Regions from separate parts of the Homo sapiens genome. Here all the other regions are linked to region 7. Evidence: promoter capture Hi-C in 16 types of primary human blood cells and fetal thymus (Javierre and others, 2016). All regions are on one chromosome and are shown on one strand. Each heading gives the region's core, a stretch centred on a gene start or on the middle of the fragment in contact. The rest is flanking DNA. Distances are from core to core; before and after follow the strand shown. Region 1 overlaps PRKCQ (protein kinase C theta). Region 2 overlaps TASOR2 (transcription activation suppressor family member 2). Region 3 overlaps PRKCQ (protein kinase C theta). Region 4 overlaps PRKCQ (protein kinase C theta). Region 5 has its middle 73 kb from the start of LINC02656. Region 6 overlaps PRKCQ (protein kinase C theta). Region 7 holds the start of IL2RA (interleukin 2 receptor subunit alpha).

What was found. The method cuts DNA at HindIII sites, captures the fragments that hold promoters and counts their contacts. A CHiCAGO score of 5 or more calls a contact.
Region 1: a contact is called between a fragment that was not itself captured here and the fragment with the promoter of IL2RA in region 7, in 1 of 17 cell types (activated CD4 T cells). The highest score is 5.5, in activated CD4 T cells.
Region 2: a contact is called between a fragment that was not itself captured here and the fragment with the promoter of IL2RA in region 7, in 1 of 17 cell types (total B cells). The highest score is 5.2, in total B cells.
Region 3: a contact is called between a fragment that was not itself captured here and the fragment with the promoter of IL2RA in region 7, in 1 of 17 cell types (activated CD4 T cells). The highest score is 5.3, in activated CD4 T cells.
Region 4: a contact is called between a fragment that was not itself captured here and the fragment with the promoter of IL2RA in region 7, in 1 of 17 cell types (activated CD4 T cells). The highest score is 5.5, in activated CD4 T cells.
Region 5: a contact is called between a fragment that was not itself captured here and the fragment with the promoter of IL2RA in region 7, in 3 of 17 cell types (endothelial precursors, monocytes and neutrophils). The highest score is 5.3, in endothelial precursors.
Region 6: a fragment that was not itself captured here is called in contact with the fragment with the promoter of IL2RA in region 7 in 1 of 17 cell types (activated CD4 T cells); the score reaches 5.7 in activated CD4 T cells.

What each region holds. Positions count from the first base shown.
Region 1 is chr10:6,504,390-6,508,299 of GRCh38, forward strand. It overlaps PRKCQ (protein kinase C theta), which reads right to left. Exons shown (of 18, transcript NM_006257.5): 4 at 3,047-3,107. Among named protein-coding and RNA genes, the nearest start is that of PRKCQ, 74 kb to the right of the region's middle. The HindIII fragment of the contact is 3,347 bases long and covers 805-3,910 here.
Region 2 is chr10:5,705,325-5,709,490 of GRCh38, forward strand. All of the region lies in intron 1 of TASOR2 (transcription activation suppressor family member 2), which reads left to right. Among named protein-coding and RNA genes, the nearest start is that of TASOR2, 23 kb to the left of the region's middle. The HindIII fragment of the contact is 5,278 bases long and covers 1-4,166 here.
Region 3 is chr10:6,562,092-6,565,746 of GRCh38, forward strand. All of the region lies in intron 1 of PRKCQ (protein kinase C theta), which reads right to left. Among named protein-coding and RNA genes, the nearest start is that of PRKCQ, 16 kb to the right of the region's middle. The HindIII fragment of the contact is 2,969 bases long and covers 1-2,868 here.
Region 4 is chr10:6,527,024-6,531,206 of GRCh38, forward strand. All of the region lies in intron 1 of PRKCQ (protein kinase C theta), which reads right to left. Among named protein-coding and RNA genes, the nearest start is that of PRKCQ, 51 kb to the right of the region's middle. The HindIII fragment of the contact is 1,240 bases long and covers 844-2,083 here.
Region 5 is chr10:6,421,790-6,425,755 of GRCh38, forward strand. It overlaps a transcript of PRKCQ not described here. Among named protein-coding and RNA genes, the nearest start is that of LINC02656, 73 kb to the left of the region's middle. The HindIII fragment of the contact is 2,434 bases long and covers 965-3,398 here.
Region 6 is chr10:6,474,208-6,477,927 of GRCh38, forward strand. All of the region lies in intron 12 of PRKCQ (protein kinase C theta), which reads right to left. Among named protein-coding and RNA genes, the nearest start is that of PRKCQ, 100 kb to the right of the region's middle. The HindIII fragment of the contact is 846 bases long and covers 1,644-2,489 here.
Region 7 is chr10:6,060,180-6,064,166 of GRCh38, forward strand. It overlaps IL2RA (interleukin 2 receptor subunit alpha), which reads right to left and starts at 2,188. Exons shown (of 8, transcript NM_000417.3): 1 at 1,909-2,188. The coding sequence starts at 1,972. RefSeq lists an enhancer at 1,899-1,948 and a cis regulatory region at 1,941-2,571. The HindIII fragment of the contact is 7,385 bases long and covers 1-3,987 here.

The DNA of each region.
Region 1 (3,910 bases), core at 1,228-3,727, 440 kb after region 7:
GTTTCAGCAGGAGCCTGCTGGTCTACCTAGGCTGTTCTCCCCACAGCCCTCACACAAGGCATATTCTTGCTCAAGCCTTCACTTTTTCCTCCTTGTAAGGCCATCCCTCTTCTTTAGAAAACTCAACTCTTGCTAACCTTTAATGCCCACACTGTGGAACTTACTGAAATGAAAGCAACACACACTGATCTCTTGGTTAATCAGTATTTGTGTGGTTTAGGTTATAATTTTATCTAATTGTCTAATCTGTACCACCTCTGGGTATATGTTCCCTGAGGAGAAGAACACGTTTTGCTTTTCTGAATCCTTCAGAAGACGATTTCTTATACTAATAATGAGCTTTCTTAAAAGAATGCTCTCCTCCTTGTCATCAACAAGGAATTTTCTAGTTAGGTTATTCCATAACTTTGGTTTTTAAAATTAGATTTTTTTGACACATAAAAATTTAGAGATGGAGTGTCAATTTGGATCTAGATATAAAAAGTTTTAAATATTACAAAGATTTATTCTTTTTTTTTTTTTGAGATGGTGTCTCACTCTGTCTCCCAGGCTGGAGTGCAGTGGTGCAATCTTGGCTCACTGCAAGCTCCGCCTCCCGGGTTCATGCCATTCTCCTGCCTCAGCCTCCCGAGTAGCTGGGACTACAGGCACACACTGCCATACCCGGCTAATTTTTTGTATTTTTAGTAGAGACGGGGTTCCACCATGTTAGCCAGGATGGTCTCGGTCTCCTGACCTCGGATCCACCTGCCTCGGCCTCCCAAAGTGCTGGGATTACAGGCGTGAGCCACCGTGCCCGGCCAAAGCTTTATTCTTAAAACATTTCCTAGGCTTATGTCATTATTGTTTACGGAATATCATTGTTTTTGCCCGATTGAATTTGCTCTCTCATTCTAATAAAATATTTAAGTTCCACAGGAATAGAAGGACCATCCATGGAATTGTTTTTCAAAGCAGGGATCTTAAAATCATTTACCAAAAATACTTGCATTCTGATGAAGGACACTTTTTCTCCTTTCTTTCTTTCTTTCCTTCCTTCCTTTCTTCCTTCCTTCTTTCTTTCTTTTGAAGGACCCTTTTTCTCCTTCCTTCCTTCCTTCCCTCCCTCCCTCCTCCTTCCTTCCTTCCTTTTCTTTCTTTCTTTTTCTTTCTTTTCTTCTTTCTTTCTTTCTCCTTCCCTTCCCCTTCCTTCCTTCCTTCCTCTCTCTCACCCTCTCTCTCTCTCCCTTCCTTCCTTCCTTCCCTCCCTTCCTTCCTTTCCTTTCCTTTCTTTCCTTTCTTTCTTTCACTGTATCATCCACACTGCAGTGCACTGGTGAAATCACTGCTCACTGCAACCTCAATAACCTGGGCTTAAGCGATCCTCCCACCTCAGCCTCACAAGTAGCTGGGACTACAGGCACGCACCACCAACTCTGGCTAATTTTTGTATTTTTGGTAGAGAATGGGTTTTGCCATGTTGCCTAGCCTGGTCTGGAACTCCTGAGCTCAAGTGATCTGCCCACCTCGGCCTCCCAAAGTACTGGAATTACAGGCATGAGCCACCATGCCCAGACAAGACCCTTTTTCAATTTACATTGGGTCATGATTTAAACTAATGGGAGGAATGTATTTCTCTTATTCAAGGAATTAAACATCATTGATACTATTATTTAGGTCAGCACTTTCACATTTTATGCAAATCTGGTTATTCGGATATCCTGCAATCACTCTATTTCAGCCAACTCAAAAGTTGTACTATGTGTACTGTATATCTACACCTTCCAAGAGGAAAAATAAATAAAATTTCAGAGTACATTTTTCCCATCTCAGTAATTCTTTCTTTCTTTTAAAAAAATTTTATTATGGAAAATTTCAAATATACCTAAAAGTTGAGCAAATACTATAATCAATTTTCATATATCAATCATTCAGTTTCAGCAATTATTAACTGATGGCCACTCTCTTTCAATACACCCTGTCCATCCTACACCCCATACCATTGGATTATTTTGAAGCAAAACTATGGTATCATATTATTTTATCTAAAATATTTCAGCTATTCACTGGTTTTTCTTCAGATCGAATAAATCTTTCGCCTTTTACTAAAATATTTCAGCATATATATGTAAAAGATCAGTGTGCCTTTTAAAGAAACATAACCGCAATATTATTATCACACCTAAAAGATGAATTCACCATGCCTCAATATCATCAAATATCTAGTGAGTGTTCAAGTTTTCTATGATTATTTCATAATATTGTTTTCTCTGATGTATTTGTTTGAATTTAGACACGGAGGAATTATATATGGTAAGCCGAAACTCAGAAAGCACCATAAATGTATAAAGTTAAACTTGCTTCTTCTTGGTAGTAAAATTAATTTAGGAAAAAATGAAGTGAATTTACCATCAGTAAGTTTACATGTCCATGCTGTGACTTAGGATTTTCTAAGTAGGGGGATTTGATTCACATACACAGCCCTGACAGCCTGTCTCAGCACATCGTACCGGGAAATTTCACTTCTGTGGCCAAAGTCCACATGTAACATGGAATCAAAACCCTTTAGCAATGTGTTTTCTCACCTTTTCTTGTTCCTAAAAGGACTTGAGGTGACTAACTTCAAGTGTTAGCATTTTGTTACTAATTTTATGGAATATATTGATTGACTTCTTACTTATTTTGTATTCTACTGATAATATGGTAGCTTCTTAGAGCACATCATTTAACCATAGACAATGTGTACACACATAACCACACATCAACAGTCTTTTGTATTTAGACTGAATTCCCAAACTAAACTAAAGACAGAGTATAAGAGCTTTGGGCATATGGATTCACATCACTTAAAACAAGTGCTATAAATGTTTTATATTTCTACGTTTTTCCGGCCCAGATAGTGTCTTTTAAAGTCATGCCTGAGCACCTCTGAGAATTTTAAAACAATTTTGTGCCTCTCTTTTCTCCTGATTCTCTTCTACAATAATTGCAAAGGTAAAATAAGCTGCATTTGAGGAGAAGGCCATGCCCTCCTCACCCCCAAACAGGAAGAAGAAATGTCACTTGCCACTCATTTCCAGAAAGTATCTTGCATTCATTAGCATTCGGCCTTGAGGTTTCAGCTCTAACTGGTTGGGAGAAGGAGAGAAACATCAGTCAGAATGTGAAACAAGCCCTGAGTTCAATGACATCACTGGCTACTGACGATGGCAGGAGATTTCCACCACAGAATACAATCATTGTTACTCTCCACTGTACTCAAACTCATTGTCATCAGACGACTGTAGCAACCGTGACAATCGCCTTTCTTTTCTTAAAACATCCCAGCAATTCATTAATTTTATTTGGAGAGAAAAACTTACATAAGGAAGAAATAAAATCCTAAAACAGATTCTATTTGGTTTTCTTGCCCTGTAATGCTGCGTATCTGAAGGACTGTCACAGGGCAGACCCAGATCTTCATCATGACAAAAGAATCACAGGCACTGGGACTGGCTTCCTTGGGGAAAAAGCTCTTCTTTTGGAGGGAAAGATAAATCCTGCCTCTTTGAGGCCGCCTCCAGGCCCCTGTCTTCTTTTCTACCTGGGATGCATGTCTAGGTTAATCAGGGCATTCAATGGGGATGGCTTTTCTCTTTCACAAAGAGAGATTGTATTTTTAGGAAAGTCTTGGATGGTCCACTAAAGAAAATTCTAATTACACTGATCTGGGAAGGAATTTATAAATGTATATAAATACATACTTCAGTACTGTATTATTATGTAGAAGAGGGCGGAACAAAGTGTCATTTTAAGGGATGATGTAGGATCTCCCATAAAGTGACATAAGGAGAAGAAAGGACAAATCCAAGTTCAAGACAAGCTGAGCGCTGTTGTTAATCTATTAAACCATCCCACTATGCCATTAACAGACCAAAAAGAATAAGAAAGA
Region 2 (4,166 bases), core at 841-3,340, 350 kb before region 7:
TTTTACTTTTTTTAATTGCTGATTATTATTATGTGTGAATATACAAGTTTATCCATTCACCTATTGATGAATATTGGAGTTGCTTCCAGTTTTAGGCTACTGTGAAAAAGCTGCTCTGAACATTCATGTGCAAGTGTTTTTGTGGATATGTTTTATTCTCTTGGGTAAATATCTAGGAATAGAATTTTGGGTCATATGGTAAGTATGTGTTTATAAGAAACTGATGTTATTTTTTAAATTGGCTATATAATTTTTCAGTTGGCTTTATATTTCTACTAGGAGTGTTCCAGAGGCTCCTCATCCTTGCCAACGCTTGGTATTTTCAGTCTTTTTAGCCATTCTACTGGAGCAGTAGTATTTTATTGTGGTTTTAATTAGCACTTCCCTGATAACTAATAATATTGACCCATTTCCCATGTTTCTTTTTATTATATGCTTTATTTTGTGAAATGTGTCTATGAGTTTTTTATATATTCTAGGTACAGGTACTTTACAAATATTTCCCATTTCTTAATAATGATACCTTGGAAGATCAGATGGTTTTAATTTTTAGGAAGTCTGATGTATACATTTTTCTAGGTCACTAATTTTGTGCCCTATGAAAACTTTATGTACCCCATAGTCAAGTACATTTTTTCCTATGATTTTTTAAATTTTATAATTTTAGCCAAATAGTTATAGTTTTTATGTTTAGGTCTGTGATTCATTTTGAGTTAAATTTTATGGTTTAAGGTAGAGGTTTGAGGTTCATGTTTTTTTCCTCCGTTTTAGTTGTTCTGTAGCAGCATTTATTGCAAAGATATTCTTTCTCAATGGAATTATACTGGCAATATTGAAAATCTGTTATCTGGACTCTATTCTGTTCCATTGATCTATATGCATTTTCTTTGTATCATTACCACCTTGTCTTGACTACTTTAGCTTTGTAGTAATTCTCAAAATCAGGTAGTGAGTCCTTCAGCTTTGTTCTTTTTCAAAATTGTTTTGGCTTATATCTTTCTTATATAAATTTTAGAATCAGATCATCAGTTTCTGCAAACTGAGATTGTGTTGAATCTGTAGATCAATTTTGTGTCTTAACATCCCCCAGCAAAGTTAGAAAGCCAGGCAGTAATATCAGAGGGCACAAGCCCAGATTGAAGCTGGAAGACATAGTGCTCCAGAAAGGTCCTTCCAAAAAAAAGAAAAGAAGCTGCTCAAAACAGACAAAATCTTTGATCTATCTTTATCCAGAGGATATTGTTAGTTCTCTAGAATTTCAAGCTGAAATAATGATTGGTAACTGAAAATTAAGCTATTTTAAATTCAGAAAAGCAAAACACGGTATAAGGAAAGAACTTGACTACACAGTATGGCTCAGCAATGATTAATACATACAGTTAAGTAGTGAAACCTAGGCCTAGCACGGTGGCTCATGCCTGTAATTCCAGCACTTTGGGAGGCCGAGGTATGCAGATCACTTGAGGCCAGGAGTTCGAGACCAACCTGGCTAACATGGTGAAATCCCATCTCTACTAAAAATACAAAAATTAGCCGGGCATGTTGCTGGGCACTTGTAATCCCAGCTACACGGGAGGCCGAGGCAAGAGAGTTGCTTGAACCCGGGAGGTGGAGGTTGCAGTGAACCAGAATCAAGCCACTTACGCTCCAGCCTGGGCCACGGAGCAAGACTCCGTCTCAAAAAAAAAAAAGTAAGCACCCAACAAATGTTAGCCATTGTTATCATTAATAACAATAGCTTCCTTGCTAACAAATACTAGGATAACGTCTCTATCCATGGCAGCAAAGAAAAAAGGAATTTGCTAAGTTATCTGATGCCAGTGCACCATGCCTCATGCACAGCAAGCCTTCAGTAAAGTTCCTTGTAGAGTCACAACTGAAAGGAGCTTTAGAAAGGCAATTATAACTAAAGGAGGCCTTAGAGAGTATAAATTTAACAAAATCCATCAGTTAGTATGTCTTCAGCTTCCAATAAAAGTTTAAACAATAAGGAACATTTATTATTTCATGTATAAAGCCCAAAGATGAGGCAGCCCCCAGGTTAGTTTATTTCATCAGTTCAGGGATCTAGTTTCTTTCTGTTCTGTTCCGTTCTATGTTGGCTGCCATCTTGGTTGCAAGGAGATCCAGGCAACACATCTTCAGACAAGATCCTAGGCTAGAAGATGGAGTCCTTTTCTAAGAAAGGTTTCCCAGAACTCTCTCTGTAGACTTCCATTTATATCTCACTGGCCAGAACTGAGTCACATGTTTATTCCTAAAACAAACACTATTCAAAGGGAGTGGAATTACCATAATGATCTTAGAGTAATTAAGATTCTCATTCTCTTTCTCTCTCTCTCTCTCTCTGTCTCCCCCCCCAACCCCACACACACACATACTCACTCTCCCTCACTCATTTTCACACACACACACACACACACACACACACACACACACACACACACACACTTCTTCTGAACCATGGGATAACCTGATACCTGAACAAAATTGTGGTTTTATGGAAGGGAAGTAAAAGGGACATGATTGTTGGGAAGTCAATCCAATGTGTCTTTAACCACTGTCTCAAAACACATTAGTGGTAGCACCTAGTGAGTTCAATAGGTAGACCAGAACCCTGGTCTCCCTATTCCTAATTTTCCCCTACATAAACAACCTCCTTCATGAATTATTATCAACATAGCTACTTTTCCTAAAAAATTTTGAATGTATCCACACAATTCTACCTCCAGTTCTTTTTGGGGGGAAAATGTGCTGTAAAACTATACATGCTGTTTTTGTGAAGCATATGAAAATCCTTATTCCACAGACTCATGATAAAAACTGAAAACTTGACCACCTTTGTAATCTTTTTCTTCGTTCTTATTCTTCTCTCCCTTCTTCCCTTAATCAGTCATATTAAACTATTTGCAGTTCCTTTAATGTATCATGTTTAAACCGCTGTTCATTTGCTCATACTATTTCTGCTATCTAGAAAATGTACACTAGTTTCCTTTTTTGGCTTCCTCATTGGAATATCTTCCAGATTTCAAGTATCTGTGCCTCCATGAAATCTTTCTTGACATAGCTCCATCTCCATAAAATTGGTTGTATCACTGTACATCCACTATATCATGTTTTAGATACTCCTACACATTTATAGTACTAATTTCTTTGCAGATTTTTCTTCCTTGTCTATTCTGAGCTAACTTGCTTGCTTTCTCTTTCTTTCCTTTCTTTCTCTTTCTTTCTTTCTTTTTCTTTCTTTCTCTCCTTTTCTCTCTCTTTCTCTATCTCTTCCTTCCTCCCTCCCTCCCTCCCTCCCTTCCTCCCTTCCTTCCTTCCTTCCTTCCTTTCCTTCCTTTCTTCCTTCCTTCCTTTCCTTCCTTTCTTTCCTTTCCTCTCTTTCTCTCTTTCTGACATGGTCTGGCTCTGTTACCCAGGCTGGAGTTCAGGGGTGCAATCTCAGCTCACTGCAACTTCTTCCCCCCAGACTCAAGCCATCGTCCCACCTCAGCCTCCAAAGTAGCTGGGACTACAGGTGCACTCCACCATGCCTGGCTAATTTTTGTATTTTTTATAGAGGTGGGGTCTCACTTTGTTGCCCTGGCTGGTCTCAAGCTCCTGAGTTCAAACAATCTGCCTGCCTTAGCTTCCCGGCGTGCTGGGATTACAGGCATGAGCCACCTCGCCCAGCCTAATCTGAACTTTTTTAATGTAGAGCCTGTTTCCCTGTAATAGAGACTGTTTGCCATTTGTCTTGATAAATCCAAGATTTAGCATGATATTGGATGCATAATAGTCACCACTAATAGTTTTGTTTAATGAATATATATACAACTAATTTGGGGGAGGAGAGAGATTTTTGTAAATTGTGTTCTGCTTGATTCCGTTATTTTCAACTAGTGGAATAAAGATGTGGTTCTGTGATCTCTTCATTTTGAAAGATTTTTTTTCAGTAAGGCAAAAGCGATTAAGCATAATATATTTCTGTGTACAAAATTTTCTTTAGAAGTTAAAGACTTTTGGAGGAAAAACATTTCAGATTATGTGTTATAGCTTATAGAACAAATTAAGTCCTTAGCTGAGAATACTTGTCAAAGGAGGTAAATAAATATTACATAATTATTCCTAATACAAATTACTCAGCGAACATTTGTTTCTATAGTAAATATGCTATAAATAGA
Region 3 (3,655 bases), core at 134-2,633, 500 kb after region 7:
CTGGAGATACCGGAAAGGAAAGAGAGAGGGATTGAGGTGGACGCTCGTGGGTAAGGAAGAACGAAGGAGAAGCCCACTCAGGCTTGTCTATGAACTCATCTGTGTGGTTCTCCTGCAGGGCAGCCTCATAAATGCCCCGGTCAGTGCTGGACCCCAAAGAAAACCACTGTGGCCATCTCCTGTCTCCCTCACAAGTTTTCCCTGAAAAGACAACAACTTCCGGAGTTCCATGCGGTTTTTCAGCCTTTTCCAAATCTCTCTAAACACCAGGAGGAATGTTCACATGCTTCAGCAGAGAGACGCACGCTTCAGGGCCCAGCAGAGAATGCCTGGAGAAGAACCCAGCCAAGCCGACTGGATCTTAGCAGAGCTCCCGGCTTGATGATTATGCTCAACCAGAGTGAGTGTTCTCTCCATTACTAACATAAGTAATACATTGGACAGCAAAACAAGGAAATAGCCCCAAACAGTAATTGAGATATAAAGGGAGAAGGAAGTCTCAAAACCCACTTCTCAGAATTAACTCCAATGTCAGGTAGTATTTTTAAACATAAGTCAGTAGATAAGGTATAGTCCCAAAATCAGGCTTTGCTACATGGAGTATTAAGAACACAGATCATGGCATCAAACTGCTTGAGTTCAAATTCCAGTTCTGCTGTATGGTAGCTCTGTGGCTTTAAACAAGCTATTTAACCTCACTTTTCTTATCTGAAAAATGAGGATCATAATAGGATTAAATGGGTTAATGGATGCAAAGTGATTAGAACAGTTACTAGTAGACAGAAAAAGCTCAGTCTATGTTAGCTATAATTATTATATACTCAGAGTCAAAAGAACACTCATCATGTTTTCTTCCAAGATTTAGCACTAAAATATTTTCTGTAGTGATTACTTTTTAGTTTTTTTGTTGAAAAAAGGCTATGGATTCTTTCAAGGTGGGCTTCCTTGGTTGGCTCTCAGCTGCCACCTCCCCTCCCCCAACAAAACAATAGCCCCTGTCCCTTGTCAACTAGATCCCAGCGCACAGTTTCACTTTAAAGGCATGCAATCACTTTGGCTCAAGAGTGAAGATATTCAGTCGAAAGTGAAGTAAGTGACAGCTAGGATTTCAGAGCGTAAGTCTCACAGTTCCAAGAGTCCCGGAAGCAGCAACCTCACTTTGCCCAGTGCCTCTCCTCCTCTTCTCGGTGACAGGGAGGTCTACTGCATGCCTACTATGACTGAGCTCTACTGCATGTCTGGAGGTGCGTGGGTGGGATTCTGGGTGCCCTGCCTTCTGAGTCCAGGTCAGGGCTCTCCCCATGGGGACAGGTCTCCATGGCCCGTCCTGATGTTGGGCCATCTCTCCTACCTTGTCACTGCCTCTTCCCTATAAGCCCCTCACCATGACACATGCCTCGATTTCTCTTACATCGAATCAGATTTTCTGCTTTACTTTCTATGCTTGTTCGCGTCTCTTGACTACCTAGAGTGCTCTCAGCCTCCAATTGCAGTCTAAGCCCACCGCTTTGTTCCTCCTCTTCCTGCCTCCCCAGGCTCCAACTCTCCATGGGATCACACCGCCTTCTTCCTGTACAGGGTTTTCTGGTCTTTTCCCTCCGACACTCCTCCACTCTGTCATTTACCTATACTGAGCTGACATTCCACCAAAATTTACTGAGCACTTGCTATGTGTGGGACTCTCTGCTCAAGCCGAGGGCTAGGGGCTAGACAGACAAAGAGATGCAGAGCCTGCCCTTGGGAGCTCACAGTGCAGTTGGGGAGGGAGGAAGGGTGTGTTAGTGCTGCTGAGCTGTCCATGTGCACAGCATGCCAGGGCACGCAGAGGAGGGACACCTTGACACAGCCCGTGGGGGCCTTTGCAGAGGAGGTGAGGTCTCAGGGGTTAGCAAAGTAACGATGTGAGCGTGAGGAAGTGCACTCAGGCCTGGGATCAGGTGCAGAGCTGTAAAATGCAAGAGGCTTCTGGGGAGCTACGAGGTGCTCAAGGACCCAAGGGAAACCTGAGTCTGGCAGGCAGGGCACAGGCTGGGAAGAACTCACGGGCCCCGCAAAGATTCGGGATTCTATTTTGCAGGTGATATGGAGTAACCAAAGAGCTTTGCAGGGGAGTGCAGCAATCATTTTCGTTTCAGCAAGATCCTCTACCGCACATCTTCAGCGGTGTGAAGAGCGAGACTAGAGGCTCAATCTCGGAAACTAAACGAGGTCCTCTGTAGGAAATATTATGGTATAAATGGCTGCAATACTATTGCTCGATGGCGTTTTCAAAGGCAGCTGCTGCAGCCTATCCCTTTCCCTCCCACCTGTCCTTCTGCGATGCCACTGTACTGCTCGCCCAGAAGTGCCCTCTGCTGCCCCTCCTTGATCTTGCCTGGCCCGTGACCTGTTTTTCACCCAAAGACCAAAGCAGCAGGAACTTCCTACTTTGGGGCCACATATGGAGGAAGACGGGGTGGGGGAATCTCAACCTCCTAGCTGCATCCACCCAGGGGCCATATAAGGGAGTGACCTCATCTCAGGTCTGACTGCAACCTTATGAGAGGGCCCTAGGGATGCTCTGAAGACCAAAACCGCCAAGCCAAGGCTGACCCAAATCCCTAGCCCACAGAATCAAGAACAAATACAATGGTGCTGTTTTTTTAAGCCACTAAGTTTGGGAGCAGTTTGTTCCATAGCAATTGATATCTTCAAAGCAATGCTCTGGGTCAAATAAACAATGTCAAATAAAGAATAAACTCCCCGCTGACAATTTCAGGACAATAGCATGGGTCCACTGTCAATATATACCCACTTGTACTTCATCCTTAATTACTTGCTACCAAATCCCATTTCAAGCCTTTGTCACACTTAACTGATTAGGGCTTAAGCTTTTTAAAAAGCGGTTTTCAGAAAATGTAATCCTCTGACTCTATCTTGCAAAAGACTAAGAAAATGTGGCATGTGGATTAAAATTCCCTGGAGTTTCGTTTGAATTTTCCTATGGGTAGTGTTTAGATGAACATTCAAGCAAATATACGTTTCACTTTTTGAAACTGCAGAATGTTTGATGCTTCTTTATAATGCGCCTTCTTAGCAGCATGGCTGGGTGTCTTGAGATAGCACAGTACTTGAATAAATAGTGTGATCTCTCTTTATGTTTACATATTTAGACCCATAGGTCTAGTCTATTTTTTCCATGAGAAAATATCTATAGTATTTTCCTGGAGAAAAGTGACTTTATTTTATTTCAATAGATACATATGCTCTCTGTTCTGAGTACTTCAAGGCTGTTCTCTCAAGAGAAGGGGTTTGCTTGCTGGTTTTCTTCTCTATGAAAATAATAAAATTCAAACATGATGCTATGTGTTAACATTTTCCTCTGCGAGCTCTAGCTATGGGAAGTTGCTAATGGTTGAGTTTTACTTTATTCATTTCTAAAAGGAAGTGCTCATTTATGCTTAGCAATGTTCGCCTTTTTTTTGGTGAAAGAAATTGCATTTATTTTATTTTAAAAAGAAACAAAAAGCCCTTTCTTCTTGTGATGCTTTTCTCTCCTAAAGCACTTTTAGTCGCAGATCTCAAGTGTACTACAAATATTAACAAATCTCCTTGTCCAGGAACTAGGGAAGAATCCCGGGAGGAAAGTCCTTTTCATTGCAATGGCAAATATTTC
Region 4 (4,183 bases), core at 214-2,713, 470 kb after region 7:
CAGGGCGGCCTCAAGGTTTGGGGCCCCAACCCATGGTAGGAGGCCATCCCCATTCACAAGATGGGAGCACTGCGGGAAGAACTAGATGGCATGAGAAGATGAGACATTTTATTTTGGACACGTTAACTTTGAGATATGGAGAATACAGTTGATAGCTTTTCTGAATCAAGAATTAAGACACATGAACTAAGGATGTAAAAGTTGTATTTTCAGCAGCCAGGTACTGAAACTTCTTGGGCAAGTGGGTACTTATTGGGAATCATGGGACTAGATATTTGAGGTCTATGTCATATAATTTCCATATCTAGAAAACAGCAGTCAGTAAAAGATATAAAAACTGTAATGATGATGATGTTGGTTATGAGGACAACAGCACCCATCACTTACCGAGCAGTTGCTAATCATGGTCATTATGAGAAGGCTCATATTTTCCCTCCCTGTGTTTTCAAACAGAGAGGCTTGCATCCCTCTAACCTATCCTCACTCCTCATCCCTGTACCCCAGGAAGAAGAGTGATTGATCTGATGGATACGTTTGTAAAAGAAAATAAAATCTCAGGCCCCCCAAACCAGTTATGCCAAGGGGAGAGGTAAGCCTGGAAGCCAAGTCCTGCCACCGTGCCATTCTTTTTCCCCAGGAGACAGCGGTCACTTCACAACCCTGTGTCACAGCATTCTACGTAAGCCAGGCTCCCACAATGACAAAAGGCCCCGAGCTTCTCCCAGATGGCCACCGTCACACACTGCTTACGAGGAAATTCCTTTCTGGCCCCTAAATCCTTCAGGATCCACATTCCCCTACAAAACAAGCCTATGCCGATTGCAACCCTAGGACTGCAACCTAAGCTTAACTTCTAAAACTGAGTTCTGTTTTAGGAACTCAACTGACAATGTTGATTTCAAGCTCATCTTCCCAGGTACAGAAGAAGGGCCAGCTGAGATCAGTCACTCTTCTCCTGACTCTGAGGCAGGTGCATAATGGATTTGTTCCTCTGCTCCCTGTTCTCACACATTTACCTTATCTTATGTAAGACATGGATTTGGTAAGCGCTAATTAGAGCCTCACTGCCTCCCTCCTCCCTCTTCCCTCCTGCTTGCCCCCTCTCCTTAAGCACTGAGTTCCTAAAACCCTCTTTGGAAAGCACAGGTCACAGGTGCTTCTGGGGCTGGTGTTTTTCCCGGGTGTGTCCTCAAACTTTAGCTCAATAAACCTCAACTGATAGAGAAACTTGCCTCAGTCACTCATTTTTTGGTTAACATGTTCTACATGAATAAACCGTTCCCACCCATCTCCACCCTCCTCTTCTCATGTTGCAGGATCTGCTGATCTGCAGAACCATTTCTGCACTATCCTTGGCCATGTCATAGGCTGGGGTGGGGTGGGGGCGCATCCTCCTCGGTTGGCAGGGGTGAGAGGGTCCCTGACACAGTCCAGCATCGCCTGGGACGCTGTGAACAGACGACCAACTTATTTGCCTGAACGTTTTAGCCATCTCCATCGATCTGGCCTTTGTTATAACTGGTGGACATGCTTCTCCATCTCCCTGTCTCCTGATCTGCCTCTCCGTTTGTTCTAAGCACAAGCATAGCCAAGAGGGCTTATGTGTTGGATCTCCCACAACCCACAAAACTGTGCAAAGGACTCACAGTGAGTAAGCAACAGCACCTGAACCCAGCTTTGGTGGCTAAGTGTCTCCACCCAAACTAATACGTTATTTCTTGTTAGCAAATGTCTTTGAAGGTTAGGTCAGGGAGGACATGAATGCATAGAGTTTTCGCTGTAGACTGTTTCTGTCTGCTCCCACCTGTCCCTACTTGCAAAGGACATGTTATGACTGTAGGGACAGGCTTTCCTGGCAACTTGCTTAATTATCTTAAGCACTATTAGGATGTTTCTCCTTGTACCTGGGGCTTAATGATCTTTCTTTCTACTCCATGGCTGTGGTTTGAAGAATGAAGAATTGGGTGATATAAACAGAGATGGAGTTTCTCGGAATACCCTAAGTTCTCTTCTGGATGTCAGGGCGCCTGTGCCTATCTGGGTAATTTTCTCAGCATGTCATAAGCCTGTGCAATTCCCTCCAAGCTTCTGCCATTCATGCCTTTAGAAGTGGCTGATTGGGATCAATGAGGATTTCTATGGACAAAGTCTAGAAAGAAGCTAACTTCATCAGATAAAGTTGGGAGGAACTCAGCCTCCCTGGCATCATTTTCTAACCATGGTTAGGATAATCACTTACTAGACACAAAGATGCTGCCTTCTGTAGGAGTAAATGGAAATGTAGGACTCTGCTTCTTGTGTCAAAATTTACTCTGAAAAGACAACCTTCTCTCTGACTCTACCATCTTGTGACCCAGCAGCTCTAACTGAGATGCTGGATCCCTTGCAGTCCTCCTGACATTTCTTCCTGTCATGTAGGTGCTCAGTGAGGAAGAGCACACCACCCAAAACAGGGGCGTCAAGTTGGGGCCAGGGACTCAGGTGCTCTGGTCAAAGGGTACCTAGACTGAGAAGGGGATCTGAAGCCCCTGGGCATGAGGCTTTGCCATTCTCGAACCTTTGCATGGCCGAGTTCAAAAAGGCACAGAGACCCAGGAAGGAGTTAACATGTGAAGGAGCTTGCAGTTTGTAAATGTTGGTGTCATGGAGTATAGGCCAGCTCTATCAGTTTCCAAGCTGTACAGTCTTGGACAAGTGACTTAATCTTTCTGTGACTACATTATCATATCTGCAAAACAAGGTATATAATGGACCCACTTCATCAGGGTCTATGAAGGATTGGGTCTATGTCTGTGTTGTGATGATTTAATGAATTAATCCATGGAAAATGCGTATGACAGTGTTTGGTGGAAAAGATGGCTACGATGATCACACCACACTTTTCTAAAACATCCTTAGAAATTCTCCCTCATGAAAATACCATAGGAACTTGTTTCATGGGTCATCAGACATGGCCCAGAACACCTCTGAACCACTTGCCAAGGGGATGAAGTGACACACACATTTGTTTTTTGCTGTTAGTCACGAAGCATTTGGAATATCTGCCTACTATATTGCAAAGCACTGCACTGGATATGCATATGGGACAGGGTCATGTTCTCAACACATCATGGGGTAGGTATGGGGCAAACCTCTCCTTCCTAGGGCGCGGTCAGAGAAGGAGCCTTCGAGAGCCTGGGCTCCACTTTCTTAACCTTTGATCCCATGAATAGAGACATGGCTGGTTCCCATGAACTTGGCGTCAGAGTCAGAGCAAGAAATGGCAAAGTGAGCTGTCGCCCTTGGGTACACCAGTAGCAAAAACACTCCTGTCCTCCTATGCTGCTGTGACACCACACCCCACTTCCTCCCGCGGGCGTGTGACACTTTTCAAAGAAAATACAGTATTTGGTAGTATCAATACAGCAAGCGGAAGCAGCAGTGCTCAGTCCGCAGTGAGCTAACAGTTTTATAGAGAATACTCTACGGAAGCCCGCATGTGCCGGCTCTGCCCGGCAACGGGGGACTGGGCTATCACAGTCACAGGGGGGGTTGTTGCAAATAGAGGGACAGGGTGGACTAGGGAAGGGCACCGGGGGAAGAGAAAGAAAGTGCAGAAAGAAAGAGCTGGGTCTATCTGGGCAGATGCATGCGTTTAGGGCAATGTGAATTGCTCACATCCAGTTGCAGTCAGAAACGTCGCCAGCTTACAAATGCAAGTGTCGTAAAAACTTGGCTGCAGTTGTTTGGGGTTTAGAATCCACAGAAACTCTAAAATTAGGTAATACTTAGGTTCCTAGGCCAGCCCCTTCACTGACCGTTCATCTGCTAATTCAGAAAGGAGCCAAAAGGAATATATGAAACTGACCACCCATTGGCATTGTTCTAGCTTACGGGACTCTCTATTTTTCCTCCTCACTGTGACGTTTCAGAGTTACTGTAGGCTGAGTATCCACTGGAGGCCTAATTTCTGAATTCAGAAAACTATTAAGTTGTTTTATGATGTGAGAAAAGGACATCTGTACTCTCACCTGTCAGCAGGGTGGAGCCCACATGTTCTCAGAGATGGTCCTGGAGAAACAGCAACATCAGCATCCCTGAGACCTCTTTAAAAATGCAAATCCTGCAGCCCCACCCAGAGCTGCTGGGTGAGAAGCTCTGGGGTGAGGATGGAGCTTTAGCAAGGCCGCCAGGGAACGGATGC
Region 5 (3,966 bases), core at 932-3,431, 360 kb after region 7:
GTAGAGAAAGGTGGTGCATAGATCGAGTCACTGCACCATGTGTGCTCATCTAACCGTGCTGAACTCAGAAGAAACCACACCATGGTAGTTAAGACACATTGACATGGAGGGTAGTCGTTTAGTTTTAGCCTCGTAATGTCATCATCACCATAAAATCAGTCTTGTTCTGTCAGTGTTATTACTTTTGTAGTTTTCTTTGTATTAACTTTTACAAATTGTATCTTGCTTTTATAGCTGTATAAGAAAAATAAAGCAGAAGTTTTTATTTTTTACTTCTTCATATTTAGGTTTGATACCCCCTTTCTTTGTGATCAATCAGATAGAATTATTTTTCCTATGAAAGAGGTCTCTAAATGATTTATGTTGGGATGCAGCAATAAAATAATAATACTATGTTAGTGGGTACCTATTCCACATTAGGTACTCTTCCAAGTGCTTTGCATAGATGGCGTTATTCACTTCTCATATGGCTTGTGAGGCTAGCACTATTATTGTCCTTATTTTATTTTATTTTTTGTCTTTATTTTTTGGTCCTCATTTTAGAAAGGAGGAGACTGAGGCTGAGTGTTTAAGTGACTTGTCCAAGGTTATACACCACATCGGGGGTGAGGCTGGGTGTGACCCGGGCATCCTGACTCCATAACCCACTTGCTGTCCCTCCCCTTATGGTGATAGAGGGACAAGCTTTGTCATCAAACAGGCTTGGGATCTAGTTCCAGCTCTTCTTCTATGATTCTGGGAAAGATGTGTAATCTTTCCAAACCTCAGTGTCCTTGTTGATAAAATGGAGACAATGATGCTGTCCTCAGAGATTGTCGTCAGGGGTTAAATGAGGTAATATACACAAAGCACTTCACCCAGTACCTGGTAATTGCAAGAATTTTCCAGAAGGAAAACTGAGCTCTCCTTCTGCCACCTGGGAGTAGGGCAGTTGGTGCATTCCAACAGCATATTTTATAGTCAAAGCTTCATCCGCAGTAGAGTGAAGAAACGACATGGAAGGCAGAAGCTGGGGGCAGAAAACATGTTCCCTGGCTGGGCATTTCCTTCCTGTCCTCATGGTGAGACATCATTGATCACTGTGGTCACTGTGCCTCTCAGATGACCCCCTGGTGGGAGTTGCTGCCAACCTCTGAGGGTCCTTCTCAGACAGTGAGTTGGGTGCTGTACAGAAACAAACTTGGGTGGCGCCTACTCCATTTCCAAATATCTCTGGGCTCTGGGAGTTTGGCCCAGCTCTTCACTATGCTTATTTCAGAGGACAAATAGAGGTGGGAGGCATCTCTGGACAGCAACAGCTGGTGTGGTCAGCAAAGGCAGGAGGCTGATGCTGCAGCCAGGCCTGGGGTGGGTTGGCTTTGGGGTTGTTTATGAGATGTGTTGGCCCTTTCAGCCTGGTAGGAGAGAATGAGCAAAAGCCCTAGAGCAGGAGCAGACATCAGGCATGTAGGGAACAATGAGTCAGCCAGCCTGGTGCTCACGGCAGTGTGGTGTCTTGCTCTGATATACACACACAGGCACACGCATGCCCCAGGGACACACTCAGTCTCTTTGGGTTCCGGACTTATTTAGGACGCAGGGAGAAACAAGGAAGTTGGGGCTCCTTCCCTCATCACTGACCCTCCAGGAGACTGAGCAGACGGCATTGAGGGAAGGAGAGCAGCCAGTGGCTTCATTCCCCGGCCTGCCGTCGGCTGGGGGCTGCTGCCCATCAGGATGGTTCCCTGAGTCAGAGAGAGGAATAACACAGGACTGACTGGAGGGCTGCCTGCAAGACTCCCAGCACCTTGGGGACCCCTCAGTAACTCCGGGAAGTGAGAGCAACTTACTGGAAGTTGCTAGTCTTAGCCCTCCTTGAGTCACCCACACTGCGGTGGCAGGACGACCCTGTGTCTCTGCTACTGTGACCGACCCTACCTCCTGGCTTCTGCTGCCCATCCCTTTGGCTGCCTTGTGGTCTTTACCAAATGCCTCTTCTCTTGGCCATCTGGTTTTTGCCTCTGTCTAAAATTCTTCAGGAGAGAGGACCTGATACCTAAGTCCAGTTAATCCTGTAGTGCCTGTAGGACGAAGTAATTTCCACCAGGCATTCTCGTGTGCCAGGCCCCACACAGACAGAGGATTGTAGAGACGTGCTCACCCACATCCTATTCACCCACTCACTCAACAAATGCACGTGATGGAGGAGTGTCTGCCAGGGTGGTAGGCTCGGTGGTAAAGAGCGTGGTCCCTACGTGCAAGAAATCTCCTGTGTAGCTGTGGCACCAAGAGCAACATCACTGTCACTCTAGGGCTTGTCTGTGTGTAAACAAGCAAAATTCTCGGGGCAAAACCAAACCAAACCAACACCTTTATTATTTGCGCCCACCATCCATTCAGACCTGCTCTGTGGGGCTCATTCTTCCAAACTTTGGCTGAAATCTCAGAGGTCCCATGACCTTTCCGGTGACATTAGACATGTCCTTCAGTTGCTCCCTCAAGATTCATTTCTGTAACTTACATGTGCAATGCCATGAATAATTGAAAACCGATTTAAAGTTGACCCTGTCCTCTCATCTAGCTCGAGAGGGCAGTGCTGGTGGCTTGTGGTGGGGAAGGCACGTGGTCAGCGTCTTCATACTTCTCACCCGCCCATGCTCAGTCCTCTCCTTCCGCAGTCCGATGACCATGGTTTCTGCTCCTTCTTCCCCGAAGTTGGGAAAGGACAGAGAAAGGAGAGAGGTGGCAGGAGAAGTCTTCCTTGGTTTGCATTGTTGTGAGTGGGTTCTGGGATGTTCCCGGTCTGTGGGTGTTTAAGGCTGATGCTTCCTCTGTTGGCCATCATTGATGGGTCCATTGGAGACAGAGGCTCTGAGAGCTCAGACCCCTGCCTGCAGTTTTATGATGTAACAAAGGCATTTCTTCTTCTCTGGCTGATTTACGACTTCTTCCTCTCTCCTAAGCATGGTCTTGCTGGACGGGATCTGAGAAAATCCTGGTCAATGCTCTCTCTGTGGCCAGCCTCTCGTGCACAGGGAGCTCTCAGCCAAACTCTCAGTCTGTATCTTCCAAAAAGAAGCACTGATCTCTCTTTTTCCAAAACCTTTAACTATACCCTGAGGTAAAGTTCTCATTTCTATTGGCAAGGTTGAGTCTAGGCTAAAGTGCAAAGTGGAGGGGAACTGGGAGTGGTGATGAGAGGACCGGCATCGAAGAGACTGGCCCCCGCACTGCGTCCCCTAGAAGGGGGACAGGTAAGCCAGGTGTGGCCCTGAATTAGGAAGTCCACTTAAAACTTTAGTGAACAATCATCAGATGCTGATTGGTGGATGTCGCTGAAACCCTGCACTCTGGAATGAAGCAAGATCTGATGCTAAGAGTTCTGGGTTCAAGTCTCCACTGGTCAACCCTCTAGTGTAAGCTTTATGGTCTCCCTGGGCCTCAGGTCTCTCCTCTATTTTTTTTTTTTTTTTTGAAACAGAGTCTTGCTCTGTCGCCCAGGCTGGAGTGCAGTAGCGCGATCTCAGCTCACTGCGACCTCCGCCTCCCGAGTTCAAGCGATTCTCCTGCCTCAGCCTCCTGAGTAGCTGGGATTACAGACGCGTGCCACCATGCTCAGCTAATTTTTTGTATTTTTAGTAGACGGGGTTTCACCATGTTGGTCAGGCTGGTCTCAAACTCCTGACCTCATGATCTGCCTGCCTGGGTCTCCCAAAGTGCTGGGATTACAGGCGTGAACCACCGCACCTGGCCAGGTCTCTCACCTATTAAATAGGGATATTAATAAGCAATTTCAGAGGACACCTGAAAGAATAGAAGGAAGTAACAAGTACTTCGCACACTCAGAAATACGAAGCAAATAGTAAGCTTGTTAGTCACCTGACATATTCATACAGATGACATTTATTAAAAACAAATGATGAGGCCTGTAATCCCAGCACTTTGGTAGAGTGAGGCAGGGGGATCATTTGAGTCCAGGAGTTCAAG
Region 6 (3,720 bases), core at 817-3,316, 410 kb after region 7:
GATGTGAATCCAGGAACACTAGCGTTCTGCCTCTTGGCATCACCCTGGGAGGCCTCTCTTCAGAGGCCTGCAAAACCACGGCGGCCTGCCCTCAAATCCAACCTGAGGGAACGACCCAGAGACAGAGCTGTTCCTATAGGATCTAGAGCTACTTAGGTGTGAAATAGTAACACTACTTAAATGTCAGAATACAGATCGGCCTTTCAGAATTCAAAGGAGACACAGAGGAAGGTAGACTTTAGTTCACTTTTAATTTTTAAGGGAAAATTATTTCCTTGAAATTAAAAAGAAATAGCATCCTTACTGTGTTAGATGCATCTTTCCTTTCCAAACAAATTTTAGAAATAAATCCTCTTATTTTTCCACAGTTTTATCAGAGATAGAACACAGAAACTTTGGATACTTGAGTTATTAATCTTTCTTTTACTGCAGCATAACTAAAAAGAGGGAAACTGTTTCAGTGTTTATTTTTCCCTGTGTTTCAAAGTTTTATGGTTAATTATTTTTTTCTAATTGTTTTAAATCTACTTGTAAGTGGATAGTTAAAAGATTTATGACAACTCTTCTTGTAGACAAATTTTATTGTGGATTTTCCTATTTTTTTACTTTTTAAAATGTAAGTAATGGAAACTGTTAAAAATCTAAGTTGGAAATCTAGTAGTGCAAAAGTTGGCTGGCATCCGCACTGAAGGGGGTACTGAGAAGGGATCGTGCAATTTCAAGCCCTGCAGACTTTGTAAGACAGAAAATGTAAATATTAACAACAAAGAAATGTTAGAAAAAAAGTAAAAGAAAGAAGAGCTAGCCCTTCTTTCCTCTTGCCAAGACAGCAGCCTCTCAGAATGCTGATCTACGTTAGACCCTGAGCCAGTAATTTATGCCAGAGCCTGGATGATGTACAAAGTCATTTTGATCTAGCACACAGAAAATTCATTGTGAAGATTCTTTTGATTTGAGCCTCATTCAGATTCAGGTTCAGATTTCATGAATTATCCTGTACATCTATGTCCCCAGACGGTGCCGTCCCATTAGGGCCCCTGGTTTTACAGCTCCCAGCCCCTCTGCCTGTAACTCTTACTCTCTGTCCTGGGCAGGGGTAAAGTGGGTGCCTCAGAGCCCTGTTGATAAACGGCAGAGCTGGGCTTGAACTTCGGAATCCAAGTCCACAGGAATTTTCACATTTTGTAGCTTCCTAAATGGCTTTATCATATTTTCACCCTTCCATAGGTGATATATCCCTCATCTAGGAACTTTAAAAACTTTAACAATTTAATCCAAATGACCCTAATTAATAACAAGTGAATACCTGTCCTCAGAATCTCCTGAATAATCTGGTATTCAACAGGTGCGCTCTTTGGAGGCAGAGAGCAGATGAATAACTTCCTTTAAAAAATAACAATGCCCTGGAGAAGTACATAGTTAATTTATCTTATCTGATGTCTACACTAGCATACACAGGTAACTGTCCTCCCAAGAAAGGTCATTCCCAACATGTTCCCAGAACAAAGCATTATCCATATCACGTATCAATCGTTGCCTTTTGCATTCACTTGTGGTATTTAATCAGTTACTTTGACAAGCAAGGTTTGAATAATTAAGACATCTCAAAAACAACAACTCGGGGTGTTGGAAAAGGTGATTCAAGCTTCTTCCTTTGTTTCTTTCCTCTTTCTAAAAGGACTCAGTTCCTTGAGATCTGAGTCTTGAGCCAGTCAGATTTACATTTCATGTAAACATTCTCTGCTGAAGTTTTTTTTTCTCTCCCAGCACCAATGCTGTGGATGCACTTGTGGCTCAGGTCTTGGTAAAGCATCCCAGCTGCACGGAACTCATTTATGCCTAGTGTTCCATTATTGGAACGCTAAGCATGTGGGAGTTATTTATATCCTACTGCTCAAGGTCATCACCAAGGTCTGATTTCAAAATTCAAAAAGTTGCAACCTCAGGCATAAATGGGTTAAGGAGATCTCTCATAAGAGGGACAGAAACAAATGCTGCCTGAAGCTGTGATGGACAGGCAAGAGAAAGGAGCATACCTATCTTCTACAAAGTGGGATTCCCAATAGCCTTCCCCGTAAGACATGAAAACTGTCATACATGCAAATCAAAAAAAAAAAAAAAAATGGGGAAAAGGCACCAAGAGAAGCACAACTGCCTAAGTGCCCAGAAGCCCAGTCTAAAATGTGTTTATAGTAACATACACAGAAAGATATAATAAAAATAAAATCAGTTATAATCCTACCTCCCAATTAACAACTGTTAGTTTTTCATTATTTTTCATGCTTATACATGCAAATGTTCTTGCTTAAAAGGAAATACTATATATTCTCACTTATGATTTCATAAACAACATTCTGTATTGATGTTTAAGCATTTACATCATCATTTAAAATGGTTATATAGTATTATTTTCTCTGACCATATAATAATTTATTCAATAAATCTGTCATTGGGTATTTGTGTTGTTTCCAATTTTTCGCTACTATGAAAGCTTTACAGTAAAAATCTTTATTTATGGCAAAAAAGAAAAAATGTGTTTAGCAGTTTGCTACAAGCCTCAAAATACTGCAAAGGGAAAAGATTACAGGGAGCCCCAGCATGTGCAGAAAATCTAGACAACAGTACGGAGAGGGTGGCAGAGTTTGTCTCCTTGCCTGCAGGTGACATACCTTCACCCTCCCAACAGCATGGAGAGGGTGGCAGAGTTTGTCCCTTTGCCTGCAGGTGACATACCTTCACCCTCCCAGGCCAATGGGTATTTATCATCTCCAGGAGGGAGTTTCTAGTACAAAATCTCTTCTAGCCTTCATCATGGGAAGTTCCAGCCTGCTCCCTGCAGCAGGAAGCGGGCCTGCATTCTCCTAAATAGTTGACCAGGACACCTCACTCTTTTCTACTTCCTCTCCTGCAGCCACACCTTTCATGCCCAAGGCCCTTTCTGCCCATTCAAATTCCTCTTTCTAGTTTCTCTCAGCTCTGGTACTTTGTGTCTGCCTTCTGATCTAATATTACTCATACTGTTAGAAATGCAGCCTTGACTCTTATTAGAGTGTGAAGTTCTCAAGGTCGGGAGCTGTATTATATACTTCTGTATCCTCCACAGTGCTTTGAGCACAGCATATGCTCAGTAAGTGCTTTGCCATGGTCTGGCTTCTCTTTATCTTAGGTAAGTGCATTTATTCATTGATTTGGTTATTGCACATATGCTGAGAATCTACTGGGAACTGCAGAGGTGGTGATGGATGCCCCAGTTGCCATCCACTTTCCTCATTCATTCCCTGGTTCCCTCATTAATTCTTCCCATGGCTCAAGTCTCCTTAGAAGTTTTCCCTCATTCACTCTCCAGTCGTCATGGCTTGAGATAGAAAATGGGAAAAGGGCTGGGTGCGTTGGCTCACGCCTGTAATCCTAGCACTTTGGGAGGCTGAGGGGGGTGGATCACCTGAGGTCAGGAGTTTGAGACCAGCCTGGCCAACATGGTGAAACCCTGTCTCTACTAAAAATACAAAAATTAGCTGAGTGTGGTGGTGCACACCTGTAATCCCAGCTACTCAGGAGGCTGAGGCAGGAGAATCACTTGAACCCGGGAGGCGGAGGTTGCAGTGAGCTGAGATCACACCATTGCACTCCAGCCTGGGCGACAGAGTGAGACTCCGTCTCAAAACAAACAAACAAAACAAACAAACAAAAAGAAAGAAAACAGAAAATGGAAAAGCCTCC
Region 7 (3,987 bases), core at 938-3,437:
ATGTAGAAATCACATTGAAAAACCTTCCTAAAAGTATGCCCTCTTTATAAGAACGGCACGATGGACTCTGAGGACTCAGGGGAAAGGGTGCGAGGTGGGTGAGGGAAAAGAGACTACGCACTGGGTACAGCATACATGCTCAGGTGATGGGTGCACCAAAATCTTACAACGCATTGGGTACAGCATACATGCTCAGGTGATGGGTGCACCAAAATCTTACAAATCACCACTAAAGAACTTATTCATGTAACCAAACACCACCTGTCCTCCAAAACCTATTAAAATAAAACACATAGGTCAGGCGCGATGGCTCACACCTGTAATCCCAGCACTTTGGGAGGCCATGGCTGGTGGACCACAAGGTCAGGAGTTTGAGACCAGCCTGACCAATATGGTGAAACCCCATCTCTACTAAAAATACAAAAATTAGCTGGTCGTGGTGGTGCACGCACCTGTAAACCTAGCTACTCAGGAGTCTGAGGCACGAGAATTACTTGAGCCCATGAGGTGGAGGTTGCAGTGGACTGAGATCACGCCACTGCACTCCAGCCTGGGCAACAGAGTGAGACTCTGTCTCAAAAAGTAAAAAAAAAATAAATAAAAATGTAATAAGTAAATAAAATGCCCTCTTTAAAGACACTCCTACATCTGGGCCAGTACACAGCCCAGCATGACTGGGCACTTCCCCTAAACAAGCAAGCAGACTCCTGAAATGCATCATTATGTTTCATTTCTTAATAAATTCTTTCTACAGCCAGTTAGCATTCTACTTGTTGCCATTATAGACTTTCAAAAAACACTATAAACTTTCTTATCTGTCTTCCTGAGTAAGCAAAGGGAAGACATTATTAGAAAATTCACACTCAATTAGGAAGAGTGGTTTGAGGTAGAAGTTGGTGGTTTTTTATTTCTTTAAAAAAAAATATTGGCCAGGCACGGTGGTTCATGCCTGTAGTACCAGCAGTATGGGAGGCCAGGGTGAGTGGATCACTTGAGCCCAGGAGTTCAAGACCAGCTTGGGCAACATGGCAAAAACCCCATCTCTACAAAAAAATAAATTAACCAGGTGTGGTGGCGTATGCCTGTAGTCCCAGCTACTCAGGAGGCTGAGGTGGGAGGATCGCTAAGCCTGGGAGGCGAAGGTTGCAGTAAGCCAATATCGCGCCACTGCACTCCAGTCTGGCTGACAGAGACAGTGTCAAAAAAAAAAAATCTTCGAGAAAATCCATTTGAAACAAGGAATGAAATTTAAAATTTGCATATATAAACACGTATACATATACATATCATGTATATACATAGGATTATGAGAAGTAGTAATGTTCTAAAAGTGAGTATGCATATTTTTAAAAATTTCTGTAAAGTTGCACTTGTAAGGAAATTCCTAGGTGTTATTTCCTAAGACGTAAAAGCAGTGTATACATCCTTGAAGCTAAACTTTTCTGAGATCTTAAATTCTCCCAGTGTTTGATATATGAGTACTCATGTCTCCAGCAAATTAACCTGAACTTAAAGAGCTTCCTGATAGCTTCTTAGTTGGGGGGTGGGAGTGCAGAGAATAAAAGGAAATTCATTGAAGAATAAAAGATAATTTCTTGAGAAACCTGCTCATCGGGACCCTGTTAACATCCAAATATCCCAAATATCATGCCACACTATTCTTCCCAGAATTAATTGTCAAGGACTGAGAAGGACAGGAGAACCTAATGCTATTTCAGGCTCTCTTGACAGACCAAGGAACAGTGAGGCATAAACTGGGGTCCCCGTGGGTCACAGGCAAGAGGTGGAACCCAAGATTCAACTCCCTTCTTGGAACCATCTACCTGGGGACTCCCTCTGGTTCTGTGGCTGGGAAGAGGGATGCCCATCAGCCTTCCCGGAATTCCGGGGGCACCCACAGGCCCTTACCTGCCTGGCAGCCAGGCACCATGATGAACGTGAGCAGTCCCCACATCAGCAGGTATGAATCCATCTTCCTGACCCTTGGGACCAGCCGGGGCAGTGAAGCGGAGGTCTTTCTCTGCAGAAGGCCCAGTTGCCGTCAGCCTCTTTTTGGCATCGCGCCGGAGGATGTGGGATGGGAAGATCGGTCCGCCTGGGCTGTCACCCTTGTGGGTCCATCCAGTCTCTATCGGAGTCAGGAGTTGCTCTCTTTAAGTATTGGGCTGGCGTGTTCAGCCAGGAAACTGCCTAGCACTCTCTTCTCTCATCTCAAATATAGGAAGTGTTTTTTTTTTTTTTTTTTTTTGATGACAATATAGTTTGCGGTAATTTTTCAAACCAGGTTTTTTTTTTCAAGTTCAATTGCTGGAGGTGTGGGCTGGGGTTGATGAGAAGGATTGAACTTCATTTATGAATCCTTTCTTCAGCTACGCCCATAAAAGGAGAGGGAGATTCCCCTGCCGTTGAAGGTAGGGTGAGCAAGCACTTCTTGGCAGTGGTCTCACCCAGCACTTCATAAGCTGAGTCCTCCCCTCAGGGCTGTAACGTCCTCAGGAGTCAGCCGGGACCACCTGGGATGAAGGAGCAAAGTCCTGACAAGATTCTGGTCAGGCAGCCTCCAATATTCAAATAATGGAGAAGGATGCGGCGAACTGAAGGATCCTGAGAATTCATAAATAATTCCCCAAGGCTTATAACCTGTACTAGCCATCATCATTTCACCACAGTGCCCTGGGCTCCTGAAAGTGCATTGTCATTTTATAAGGTGTTTTGCTTCCAGATTTCTTTCTCTTAAAGGATCATGCAAAAAGTGGGCTTTGGTTTTAAACTTTGGATTATTTTGTAAAATTCAGTCTTGCTTATTTATTGATCAGAGCTCTCTTCTGATTATTATGAAATGGTTGAGTGTGTTTTGCTCCCTGGAAATTTGTCTAAGACTTAAAGCCATTGCATAGTTAGAGCAAAACACAATTTTTTAAATACTAGAAAGCAAGCAAAGATATTAACAAAAAGAAAACCCTCCGGGCAAGCCAAGGAATTCAGGGTTCCAAAACACATCACGTTGACTGGGCCTGGTGGCTCATGCCTGTAATCCGAGCACTTTGGTAGACCAAGGTGGGTGGATCACCTGAGGTCAGGAGTTTGAGACCAGCCTGGATGACATGGTGAAACCACCGTCTCTACTAAAAAAAAAAAAAAAAAAAAAAAAAAAAAAAAATTAGCCAGGCGCAGTGGCACACGCCTGTAATTCCAGCACTTTGGGAGGCTGAGGCAGGCAGATCACCTGAGGTCGGGAGTTTGAGACCAGTCTGGCCAACATGGTAAAACCCCATTTCTACTAAAAATACAAAAATTAGCCAGGCGTAGTGGCGGGCGCCTGTAATCCCAGTTACTCAGGAGGCTGAGACAAGAGAATAGCTGGAACCGAGGAGGTGCAGGCTGCAGTGAGCTGAGATTGCGCCACTGCACTCCAGCCTGGGCGACAGAGTGAGACTTCCATCTCAAAAAACTTGTCAAAATATGACAAGATTCTCTTAAATTCCACAGCAGGTATAACTTCCTCTCTAGGAACGTTTCTCACTCTGCGGGCAAGTGCTCCAGTAGAAACTCCTAGTACTCCCACCAAAGTCACGCTCCTTTCTTCTTGGGCATGGGAGTAGAATGCACTTGCTGCCTCTCCTGGAAAATAGCTTATGCTTTAAGTAGTTAATGTGGATTGTCATTATAAAATATTTAAATTTATGTTAATGTCTTTTTTTTTTTTTTTTTGGAGCGCAATGGCACAATCTTGGCTCACTGCAACCTCTGCCTCCCAGGTTCAAGTGATTCTCCTGCGTCAGCCTCCTGAGTAGCTAGGATTACAGGCACGCGTCACCACATCCAGCTAGTTTTTGTATTTTTAGTAGAGACGGAGTTTCACCATGTTGGTCAGGCTGGTCTCGAACTCCTGACCTTAGGCGATTCACCCACCTCGGCCTCCCAAAGTGCTGGGATTACAGGTGTGAGCCACCACGCCTGGCAATTACAAGATTTTTTTAAAGCCAT